4 separate regions of the Homo sapiens genome follow, and all the other regions are linked to region 1. The links are contacts of gene promoters, found by promoter capture Hi-C in blood cells and fetal thymus (Javierre and others, 2016). All regions are on one chromosome and are shown on one strand. The core of a region is centred on a gene start or on the middle of the fragment in contact, and the rest is flanking DNA. Distances in the headings are between cores, read along the strand shown.

The links. Contacts are between HindIII fragments. The CHiCAGO score rates a contact against its expected background, and 5 or more counts as called.
Region 2: a contact is called between a fragment that was not itself captured here and the fragment with the promoter of PTBP3 in region 1, in 2 of 17 cell types (neutrophils and fetal thymus). The highest score is 5.9, in neutrophils.
Region 3: a contact is called between a fragment that was not itself captured here and the fragment with the promoter of PTBP3 in region 1, in 1 of 17 cell types (non-activated CD4 T cells). The highest score is 5.3, in non-activated CD4 T cells.
Region 4: a fragment that was not itself captured here is called in contact with the fragment with the promoter of PTBP3 in region 1 in 1 of 17 cell types (fetal thymus); the score reaches 5.8 in fetal thymus.

The regions. Positions count from the first base shown.
Region 1 is chr9:112,332,247-112,334,946 of GRCh38, reverse strand. PTBP3 (polypyrimidine tract binding protein 3) reads left to right here and starts at 1,328. Exons shown (of 14, transcript NM_001163788.4): 1 at 1,328-1,477. RefSeq lists an enhancer at 284-1,254 and silencers at 1,004-1,323, 1,474-1,963. The HindIII fragment of the contact is 11,957 bases long and covers 1-2,700 here.
Region 2 is chr9:111,884,820-111,887,519 of GRCh38, reverse strand. No RefSeq gene overlaps it. Among named protein-coding and RNA genes, the nearest start is that of UGCG, 11 kb to the left of the region's middle. RefSeq lists an enhancer at 395-1,223. The HindIII fragment of the contact is 9,210 bases long and covers 1-2,700 here.
Region 3 is chr9:111,930,004-111,932,761 of GRCh38, reverse strand. UGCG (UDP-glucose ceramide glucosyltransferase) reads right to left here. Exons shown (of 9, transcript NM_003358.3): 7 at 1,405-1,491; 8 at 403-592. MIR4668 (microRNA 4668) reads right to left here and starts at 662; the gene lies at 593-662. The HindIII fragment of the contact is 6,784 bases long and covers 1-2,758 here.
Region 4 is chr9:112,791,180-112,793,879 of GRCh38, reverse strand. All of the region lies in intron 1 of SNX30 (sorting nexin family member 30), which reads right to left. Among named protein-coding and RNA genes, the nearest start is that of SNX30, 42 kb to the right of the region's middle. The HindIII fragment of the contact is 5,421 bases long and covers 1-2,700 here.

The DNA of each region.
Region 1 (2,700 bases), core at 79-2,578:
TTGACATTTTGGAAGGGGACTGAGGTTAGATACAGGACTTTAAGAATTACCTCACCGAATTACTCTACCTATTTGAAAAGTTGTATGTCAAAAATATACATAAACGGACTGAAGAATCCATTCAACAGTGACGGCTGGAACCTGATTTTCTTGTGTATTCATGCAGTGCCCGGCACATAGTAGGTTAATACTGACTGAATGATGAATGAGTCCACAGTTTAGATCTTTTTAGCAGCACCTACTGATCTGAAAGCAGGAAATTAGCAAGGATAGATGTTTGAGGTTCTTGTTAGTTGCTTTTCAAATGACGAAGCCACGGGGAGGAGCCCCGCTCTTTTTTACTCAGTAGGTTAAGAATTTGGCTTAACAGTTTAGGGGGTTACATTTTGGTGATCTGTGAGTTGAAAAAGTACTCAATTTCTCACTAAAAAGGGAAAAAAGCAAGCGTGTTGTCACTCGTTATATTATATATATACTTTTTGCTCAGACCAGAGGGAAGGGCTCTGGTGCAAACGTTTCCTGGTTGTGAAACTGTGAGCAAATCACTCTCTTTGTATATGTATTTTCATCTGAAAAAAGGGAATAATGAGTAAACTTTTAAAAAATGCTGGGAATATAGCCATTCCATGTTTGTACAATGAATTTTTCATATAAATTCAATACTAGACGGTTAGGTCGAAATGCACTCAGATACTTAAATTGTATACAAATTCCAGTCCGGGCAGCCTCTTTCACCTCATTCATCGTCCCAGCCACACCTATGGGGCTGGTGTCGGTCCCAGCGGTCGACTCCAGCGCCGGGCTGCCAGAGGCTGGTCCCTGGACGTGTCATCTACAGCCTCGCGCACCCGGGGCAATTCCACCTCGTTTCTGGGGTCCTTGTGGGACATTCCTTCCTACTCTTGGGAGTCAGGTCCCCATAGCTTTTCCTGCCGGCAGAGGGAGGCATTCAAACCTGGCAGGCCCGGTCTGCGAAGCCGGAAGGCCCGCGGGGCCGCGGGAGGGCGGGCGGGGTGCGCGGCGGAGCGGGAAGCACAAGGCGCGCGCTCCCGCGAACGCAGGAGGGAGGCTGGGGGCGCGCGCGCGCGCCGGGCCGAGGGGCCGAGAGGCGGGGTCTTACAGCGACCGCGGGAAGAGGGCGCCCCAGAGCTGAGCCGGAGGCCGGCTGCCAGCGGGGCGAGGGTGGGCGCGAGCGCAGGGGCGGGCCCCGAGGGAGGGCGGGGACGGTGAGGGGGCGGGGTCGGGCTAGGCGGGGACGCGCTCGCGGGGTGGGGAAGGCGGGGGCGCGGCGGTGGCGGGAGCGTGCCCGGTCCCCGCCCCTGTTCCCACTCTCCTTCCACCTCGGACCGGCCGGGGCTCCGCAGAGCCAAAGCTCGCTTGTCCCCGGAACCGCCCTGCTGCCGCCGCCTGCTTCCTCTGCTCGCGGTTAGCCCGTCAGTCCCTGCTCTGTGCGCGCCTCCATCTGGGCCATGGATGGGTAAGTACTAGGCGGCGCGGCGGCCGCACCGGGTTGCCTTGGCGCCGCTTCCACCCGGCTCTCCGCGGGACGCGTAAGGGCTGGGGAGCAGTGCGCGGCGCCGGCGGCCGGAGGAGCGGCCCCGGCCAAGCCCGACGGCGGGGCTTCCGGGCGTCTCGGTGGGGATCCCGGAATCGCGGAGTTGCCGTCCGCCGCAGGCTCTCCTTTCCCCACGCGGCGCCCCGGACACGTCCGCTGCTTCCTAGCCTTACTCGACACACCCGGGAGCAGAGGAAAGCCCGGTCCGGCCGCGGTGCCGAGGTCCGCCCTCCGCGCCCCGAGTCCGGGGAGCCCAGCTCGGCCTCCCGACACTTCCTCTCAGAAAATGGTGCGCGGCGCTGGGGGAGGCGGAGGCGGCGCGCGGGGCGGGCGTCCTCCTGCCGGGGGAGTTGCTGTTTACCGGCGAGGTGGGGCGAGCGGCCGACGGCGGGTGCACGCGTCGGTACACGTCTGGGCGGCGACCTGGTCGCAAGCCATGGTCCCACGCGGGGTCCCAGGGCCGCCGCGGGACTTGGCCGAGGTCTCCCGACTTGTGCTGTGAGATACGTTAACGCTTTCTCGACACCAGGGGTCTGGACTTAGTGACCATGGACGCTTCCCCCTCACCTTTCTCTCTCCCCAAGAAACTTAATGAATTATCTGCCCGTGTATGTAAAATATGATGTACGAGCGATTTTCGGGGGCATTTCAAATGCTCAAAAATTTAATGGGGGTCCGTGACCAAAATAAAAAGATTTAGAGTCTATGTATATAAACTGTTCTCTGGGGACTCAGGGATATGGGGTGGGACTTGACATATTTTGGTAATTAAAGTAACAACTATGTTAGGATTTTGGTGAATTAATTGAAGGTTGTAGTATCTGTACCTACGGATTAAAAAAAAATCTCCAACTCGGTTTATTCCCATTATGTATTTGAGGTTTTTTTTAGCTTGTTACCTACTTTTGATGACAAGATTTCTGTGAGGTTGTGGAATATATGCAACTTGCTAGAACAGTAAAAGTCGTTCACATGTTGCCATACAGTTGATGATATGCTATTTGAAGATGAAATCTTCCAACAGCTTTTGACCTCATTAGATTTCATTTATTTTAGTTTCACAATATTAAGTGTATATGACATTTCGGATTGATTCATTTGAATGCAGATTGCACACTGCTACAGACATCAAAGTGGAGTTTTAG
Region 2 (2,700 bases), core at 92-2,591, 450 kb after region 1:
ATGCGTGTATGCATGCATATATGCACATGCACGTGTGCACGCACATATGCACATACGTATACATACATGTATGCACATACGTATACGTGCATGTGTGCACATACGTATGCGTGCATGTGTGCACATACGTGTGCGTGCATGTGTGCACATACGTGTGCGTGCATGTGTGCACACATGTATACATGAGGTTGGGCACGGTGGCTCATGCGTGTAATCCCAGCACTTTGGGAGGCTGAATCTGGCAGGTTGCATGGGCCCAGGAATTAGAGACCAGGGTGAGCAACATAGTGAAACTCCATCTCTACAAAATATGCAAAACAGCCTGCACCTGTAGTCCCAGATACTCGGGAGGCTGAGGCAGAGATTGCAGTAAGCCGAGATCACGCCACTGCACCCCAGCCTGGGCGACAGAGTGAGATTCTGTCTCAAAATAATAAAATAATAATACAATAAAATATGTGATGTTCCAGGTACACAGTGTTCTCATGCTTTGGATACAAAGTGAAAAATAACATAATCTTTTTTTCCCCCTGGAGAAGTTCAAGTTCAGCTGAGGAAGAGAAATGCAAAAATGTATCATTGTAATGCAATGAGTGTTGATATAGAGGTATGAGAAAAATTGGGAGTTGGGAGTGATTACTTTTATTCCAGAAAATCTAGAAAGACTTCATGGAGAAGGTCATCTGGGTCCTGAAGAAAGACTAAGACATTGCCAAGAGTGAGGAAAGTGCAGCTGGGCACCTATAACCCCAGCATTTTGGGAGGCCGAAGGGGGCAGGTCACTTGAGGCCAGGAGTTCAAGGCCGGGAGTTCAAGACCAGCCTGGCCAACAGGGCAAAAACCCGTCTCTACTAAAAATACAAAAATTAGCTGGGCATAATGGCAAGAGCCTGTAATCCCAGCTACTCGGGAGGCTGAGTCAGGAGAATCACTTGAGCCCAGGAGGCGGAGGTTGCAGTGAGCCGAGATCGCGCCATTGCACTCCAGCCTGGGTGACAGAGCTAGACTCCATCTCAAACAAACAAACAAACAAACAAAACTTGGATGGCCTTGAGAAACAGTTGACCTGGGTTAACTAATAAATTCATTGATCTGTAACTGAAAATCCAGTTATGGGGAGTATGACGTATGAATGACCATCTAAAGCAGGACTCGTTTGAGAAAGGAGACACTATTAACAATCAGGCTAGGAGAAACTGAGGCAGTCACAGAGTCACACCCTATATAAAGCAAACAAGAGTCAGGCACAGTTAAAAAATGGAGTTCTTGCTCCATTTTTCTGAGATAGTCTTGGCTCGCCCCTCCTCTATGTGTCAGTATTTTACTTTACTTTACTTTACTTTTACTTTATTTTATTTTATTTATTTTTGAGAGAGAGTGTCATTCTGTCTTCCAGCCTGGAGTGCAGTGGCAAGATCTTGGCTCACCGCAACCTCTGCCTCCTGGGTTCAGTGATTCTCGTGCTTCAAGCCCCTCGAGTAGCTGGGATTACAGGCGTGTGCCACCACACCCAGCTAATTTTTGTATTTTTAGTAGATACAGGGTTTCACCGTGTTCACCAGGGTGGTCTCAAACTCCTGACCTCAAGTGATCTACCTGCCTTGGCTTCCCAAAGTGCCAAACTTTGCTTCCCAAAGCAGTTTTGTCTTTAAGCTGACCTCGCTCATGGTTGTAAGACAGCTGCCAACAATTATCAGTACTTCACATCCAGGAAGAGAGAGCAAGTGTTAGTTGTGACCTAACAAAAATCTTAAGCCTTTTCATTTTTCTAATGGTTACCCTTGAATACCATTTGTTAGGCTATGGCAAGGCAGACTAGAATAGTCAAATTAGAATTTATTGAAGCTGGTAGTAAGGATAATCCCATCCAAACTGCAAGGTGACTATGTAATGAATGGGGGAGGAATAGAATTGGAAAGATAACCACGATAGCCACCACACTGAGTTTTTCCAAAATGGAAAATTTCTAGGAAGTCTTAAATATGAAAGATTCCCGGTTAGCTCTTCCAGCTTGTTCGTTTTCTAAATAATAGCTTTATTAAGATATAGTCACACACCGTAACATTCACTCCTTTAAAGCATACCACTCAGTGATTTTTAGTATCTTCACAGAGTTGTGCAACCATCACTGCCCAACTTTAGAACATTTTCTCACTGCAAAAAGAAACTCCATACCCATTAGCAGTCATTCCCCATTTCCCCTCCCCCCAGCTCCTGGTAACTACTAATTTAATTTTTTTCTATATAGATTTGCCTATCTTGACTATTTCATAAAAATAGAATTGATGGGCCAGGCACGGTGGCTCATGCCTGTAATCCCAGCACTTTGGGAGGCCGAGGCAGGCGAATCACCTGAGATTGGGAATTCGAGACCAGCCTGACCAACATGGAGAAACCCCATCTCTAGTAAAAATACAAAATTAGCCGGGCATGGTGGCACATGCCTGTAATCCCAGCTACTCGGGAGGCTGAGGCAGAAGAATTGATTGAACCCAGGAGGCGGAGGTTGCAGTGAGCCAAGATCACGCCATTGCACTCCAGCCTGCGCAACAAGAATGAAACTCTGTCTCAAAAAAAAAAAAAAAAAAAGAATTAACATATTATGCAGACTTTTATGACTACCTTCTTTCACAGCATGATATTTTCAAGGTTTATTCATGTCACAGTACATATCAGTACTTCATTTCTTTTTATAGCCAA
Region 3 (2,758 bases), core at 222-2,721, 400 kb after region 1:
TAAATTCTTGGATTTCACTTTTCTAAGTATACTATGTAAAATCAAGTCTGCTTCCTTATGTAATTTAACTGCCATGTTATACCGTTCAAGAAAATGCTAATTGTTAATGAAGCATTAAAATAACTGCTATCTTAATGTCTTATTAGTTTCAATACTCACTGATTTAATTAACTTCATGTTTTTGGAAACTTAATAAAAGCGATTATATAACCAATAGAAAGTTGCAAATCGACTTAAGTTTTGCATCAACATTCCACTAGAGAAAGTCATGTTCAAACCCGAGACTAACCTACAATGGGAAGCTGAAGAATGGCTCAGATACATTTCCTTCAACTTTTTCTAAATTGAAATAGTTCTAGTTCCACCAAGGGACTGCCAACCTTTTCATGCCTATCCACATACCTGGACACCCCTGAGTTGAATGTAGTCAAATATAAACCATGCCAGGCAATGACACATGAAAAATACCATAATATCCCATCTGAACACATGGTGGGCTGCCCATCCAATAATTAAACTGGCAACAAAGCATTCTGAAATTGGCTCACAAATTATTGTAGCAGGAAGCATGTTAATTCGTAGTTTGGTCCACCTGGAAAAACAAAAAGGATTTTCTTTAAAACAATATCCTGGCTACAAGACAAATCCTTTTTTTTTTCCCTCAAATAATCAATTTTTTTACCCTGTGATAGAAAGACCATTCTCTTTAAACTTTTTTTGTTTTGTTTTTTTTTTTTTACTTGAGACGGGGTTCTGCTCTGTCACCCAGGCTGGAGTGCAGTGGCACTCACTGTAGCTTCAATCTCCCAGGCTCAAGCGATCTTCCCACCTCATCCCACCAAGTAGCTGGGACCACAGGTGTACACGCCACCACACCTGGCTAATTTTTGCATTTTTTGTAGAGACAGGGTTTCACCATTTTGCCCAGGCTGGTCTCAAACTCCTGGGCTCAAGCAGTCCTCTCGCCTTGGCCTCCCAAAGCGCTGGGATTACAGGTGTGAGCCACCACACACAACCTAAAAATTTTTTTTAATGACTCTCTTTTCTATTTTTGTCTAGGATGTCAAAGAAAAATGTCTTTAAATTCATTTGTATGGCCTACGCTCTGATGAATACAGATAATAAAATTTAATCAGCACAGAAAGTTAGAAAATAAAGATCAGCATATTAAAAAATTCAGTCTCAACATTTCTCTAATGAGTGCTTTCAGTGTTATACAGCAAATAAAATACATTTAGACATTAAATTTATCTTAAACACAGACGTTAAACTCTATTTTCTGCAACTAAACAAAAATCTTCAACCTTTAGGTACATTCATTTAACTACATTAAACCTGTAAAAATTACCACCCCCCTCCCCACTTTCCTTTTAACGAAGTATAAAAAGAAAACAGTTGATTTACCTGATCATTCTGGATTGAAACTGAGAAATTGAATATGAGCCAGAGTTTTGCATTGCAACTTGAGTGGACATTGCAAACCTCCAACCTCTGAAAATTAAGATAATTAGAAAATAAGTTATGATGATGAACACATGCAAGCGTAACTGGTTATGCATTCAGTAATCATTATAAAGACCAGGCAACTGCCGGTATTCAGGGTGAGCCCAGCTTTCATGATTAGCACATGACTTAAGGTCTACCATACGTATGGATGTTTTAGCAATTATGCTGGCCCGTGACAGCACCATCTAAGAACTAGAAGAAACTGTACCCACCTTACTTTACAATTTAAGAAACTTAAAATGCAGTCATTTTGAAAAAAAATGGAGAGGGCTCCATATTTAATAGATTAGTCTCTGATGACTACTAACCAAACAACAAGACATGTAAACAGAAAGTGGCATTATGGATCTCATGGGAGACACTAGGAAACCATGAACCACATGAACACAATCATGACAGAATTTGTATTTAAAACACACTTCAGTTTTTAAAAAATTTAAAAGAATTCTCACACAAGGCAGTGATCTCCTTTAAAAACAAGTATTTTAGGCTGGATGCAGTGGCTCATGCCTGTAATCCCAGCACTTTGGGAGGCTGAGGCGGGCGGATCACGAGGTCAGGAGTTCAAGACTAGCCTGGCCAACATGGTGAAACCCCGCCTCTACTAACATACAAAAAAAAGTAGCTGAGTGTGGCGGCGGGTGCCTATAATCCCAGCTACTTGGGAGGCTGAGGCAGGAGAATCGTTTGAACCCAGGAGGCGGAGACTGCAGTGAGCCGAGATTGCGCCACTGCACTCCAGCCTGGATGTCAGGGCGAGACTGTCTCAAAAAAAAAAAAAAAAACCAAAACAAAACAAGTATTTTGTGATAGAGAAATGCTAAGTCAGTCATATGAATCTTTCAGTGGCTTCTTAGCAAAGTATCATATAATTCACTGACAAATTTCAAATTTTGAAATGATAGTCTTTAAATTTTCACCTACTAGTTTATGACTGCACTGATAGTTTTAATTCTTCTAAAACACAGAAATTTGTATCTATATAGTAAAAATTCTAAACACAGAGAAACTTACTTTTAATCGCTTTAAAACACATTAATTTGAAAAATGTAGAGGAATCAGAACATTTACCTTCTTCATTAGTACATATCTACAATTCTATAATTAGAATATGAATTACTCTATAAAATTATTGATCTGCTGGGTGTGGTGGCTCATACCTGTAATCCCAGCACTTTAGGAGGCCGAGGTGGGCAGATCACTTGAGTTCAGGAGTTCAAGACCAGCCTGGCCAACATGAAGAAACCCCATC
Region 4 (2,700 bases), core at 22-2,521, 460 kb before region 1:
CAAGCCTCTGCGTTCTCCCTTTTTCCACCCTCCAGATACTAATTTAACCTAGAGAATGAAAGAAAAAAAAAAAAACAAAAAACAGTGGAGGTAAAAAGAACAAGAAAAACAGTGACTGGAGTCATATCAATACTGGAAATGAGGAAAGGGTGCCATCCAAATGCCAAAGGTCTCAAAGGCTGTCTACTGGTTCTACCTGGGCCACAACTGAAAAAAGAACCCAGAGGAATCTAACCCATGTCACCGAAGTTACTTCAGGTTATTGAGGTTACTTAATAAGTAGAAAATGTCCTTGAACCCCCTTTACACGCACGCTAATTTGAAAGTGTGATTGTCAGTGGGGAGTAGAGGACATGGAAGGTTTGGCAGTGGGGCAATCCAGGACCACCAAGGAGTTGGCTGCTGTGACTGTGACCAAGGGGATGCCAAGCACAGGCAAATACACCAAGTGTGGGCCACCAGCAGAGGGCACCCCGCCCACATGGCCTTCTCCCCCCGCATGATGGGTAGAGATGGAAGCAGCAGCTCATAGGAACATGAAGGCATCTGGGTTGGCTGCCCTGGGGTGTGTCCAACAAGCCCAAAGCAGGCCAGACTGCAAATGCTGGGGGGACTGAGCTCTACTGAGATGGGGGGAGCAGCTAAAACACAGAGAAAGCCAGGCTTCTTTCCCATCTGACAGATAACTAGTAATCTATGGATCTAAGACAATGCTAACAACATCAAGTAGAAACACAGAGGATCCAATATAATCCACTTGTTCTGATGGGGGCAAATAGCAGGTCTGAATTATTATCTCATCAGAGGCAAGTAAACCATAAAAACAACTCAAAATGGCATTAGCTCATCACTCAGACCTAAGAAAACCAAAACACAAAAAAAGCAAGAGTCCTCAATAACAGATAAACATGCATTTGAAAAAGATGAAGCCCATAAAACAGAACCCTTTAGGCCAGACTTACTCTGTGTTCCCATTAAAAGAAAAAGAAAAAAAAAAGCCTAAAGAAAGTGGAAAGAGAATCTAAAAATGAAAGCATAAATTAAAACAGAAAAGAACAAAAGTTATAAACAAAAGCAAAATTTAATTCTTCTGAAAGATGAATCAGATAAACTAAAACTTAGGAAATCTGAACAATATAGAAAAAGGAAAATGGCCCAGGTGTAGTGGCCTCAAACCTATAATCCCAGCACTTTGGGAGACCGAGGCAGGTGGATTGCTTGAGCCCAGGAGCTCAAGACCAGCCTGAGCAGCATGGGGAAACCCTGTCTCTAGTAAAAATACAAAAAGTTAGCCAGGCGTGGTGGCTCAAGCCTGTAGTCACAGCTACTCAGGAGGCTGAGGCATGAGAATTGCTTGAACCTAGGAGGCAGAGGTTGCAGTGAGCAGAGATCGCACCATTGTACTCCAGGCTGGGCGACGGAGAGAGATGCTGTCTCAATAAAAAATAAAAAAAGAGGAAAATGGAAAAAGGGAACAGGCAATAACTATTTAGAACTTGTGTCTATGTATGATTGTAAATTAAAAGGTTGTGCTGTGAATAACTATGCCAACAAATTTGGACATCTATATGAGCTAGCTGGCTTTCTAGGAAAAATTATGTGATCAAGGTGAAATTAAATAGAGAGAAAAAACCTAAACAGATAAATAACCACAAAACTGTTGTCAGAGAACATCCACGAAGAGGTAAGCTGGGTCCCAAGTGTTTCACAGTGAGCACTCATGAACCTTCAAAGAGTAAGTCCTACTTTATTCAAATATTCTAAGACATAATTTTAAAATGCAGAAACCTTTCAAATCATTTCATGATGACTATCTATATCCGGTATCAAAATATTAGGACAAAAAAGAAAACTGAGAACAAGCATAAACATCATTAATAAAGTAACAACTAACAGTACACTAAAAGAATTTTTGGAAAAAAAATATATACCAGGATCAAGTCAAATGTATTCCAGGGAAGCAAGAATGATTTAACATTAGGAAATTTATCAATACAATTTATTACATTAATAACATTACTTCATTACACTATATTACATTAATATACATTACTTCAACCACTGTTGAAGATACTCATGTCCAAAACTACCAAAATATTTACTGGCATCACTCATATCAGCCATTCCATTTAAATCTCTAAGTAAAATTAAGAAGTAAAAAGAAAGTTCCCGGCCAGGTGCAGTGGCTCATGCCTGTAATCCCAGTACTTTGAGAGGCCAAGGCGGGTGGATCACGAGGTCAAAGATTGAAACCAGCCTGGCCAACATGGTGAAACCCCATCTCTACTAAAAATACAAAAATTAGCTGGGCGTGGTGGCACACACCTGTAGTCTCAGCTACTTGGGAGACTGAGGCAGGAGAATCGCTTGAACCCAGGAGGCGGAGGTTGCAGTGAGCAGCGCAATTGCGCCACTGCACTCCAGCCTGGCGACAGAGCAAGGCTCCGTCTCAAAAAAAAAAAAAAAAAAAAAAAAAAAAAGTTCCTAAATATGTTTAAAAGTATTTATCAGAAAACATCAGCAATTAATCTTGAAGACATTATTCTAAGTGAACGAAGCTAGATGAGAAAAGCCACATGCTATATAATTCCATTTATATGAAATGTCAGAACAGGCAAATCCTGAGAGACAGAAAGCAGACTTGGTTGCCAGGGGCTACAGGTAGGGGGAACAGGGAGAGCCAGCTTAATAAAGACCAAA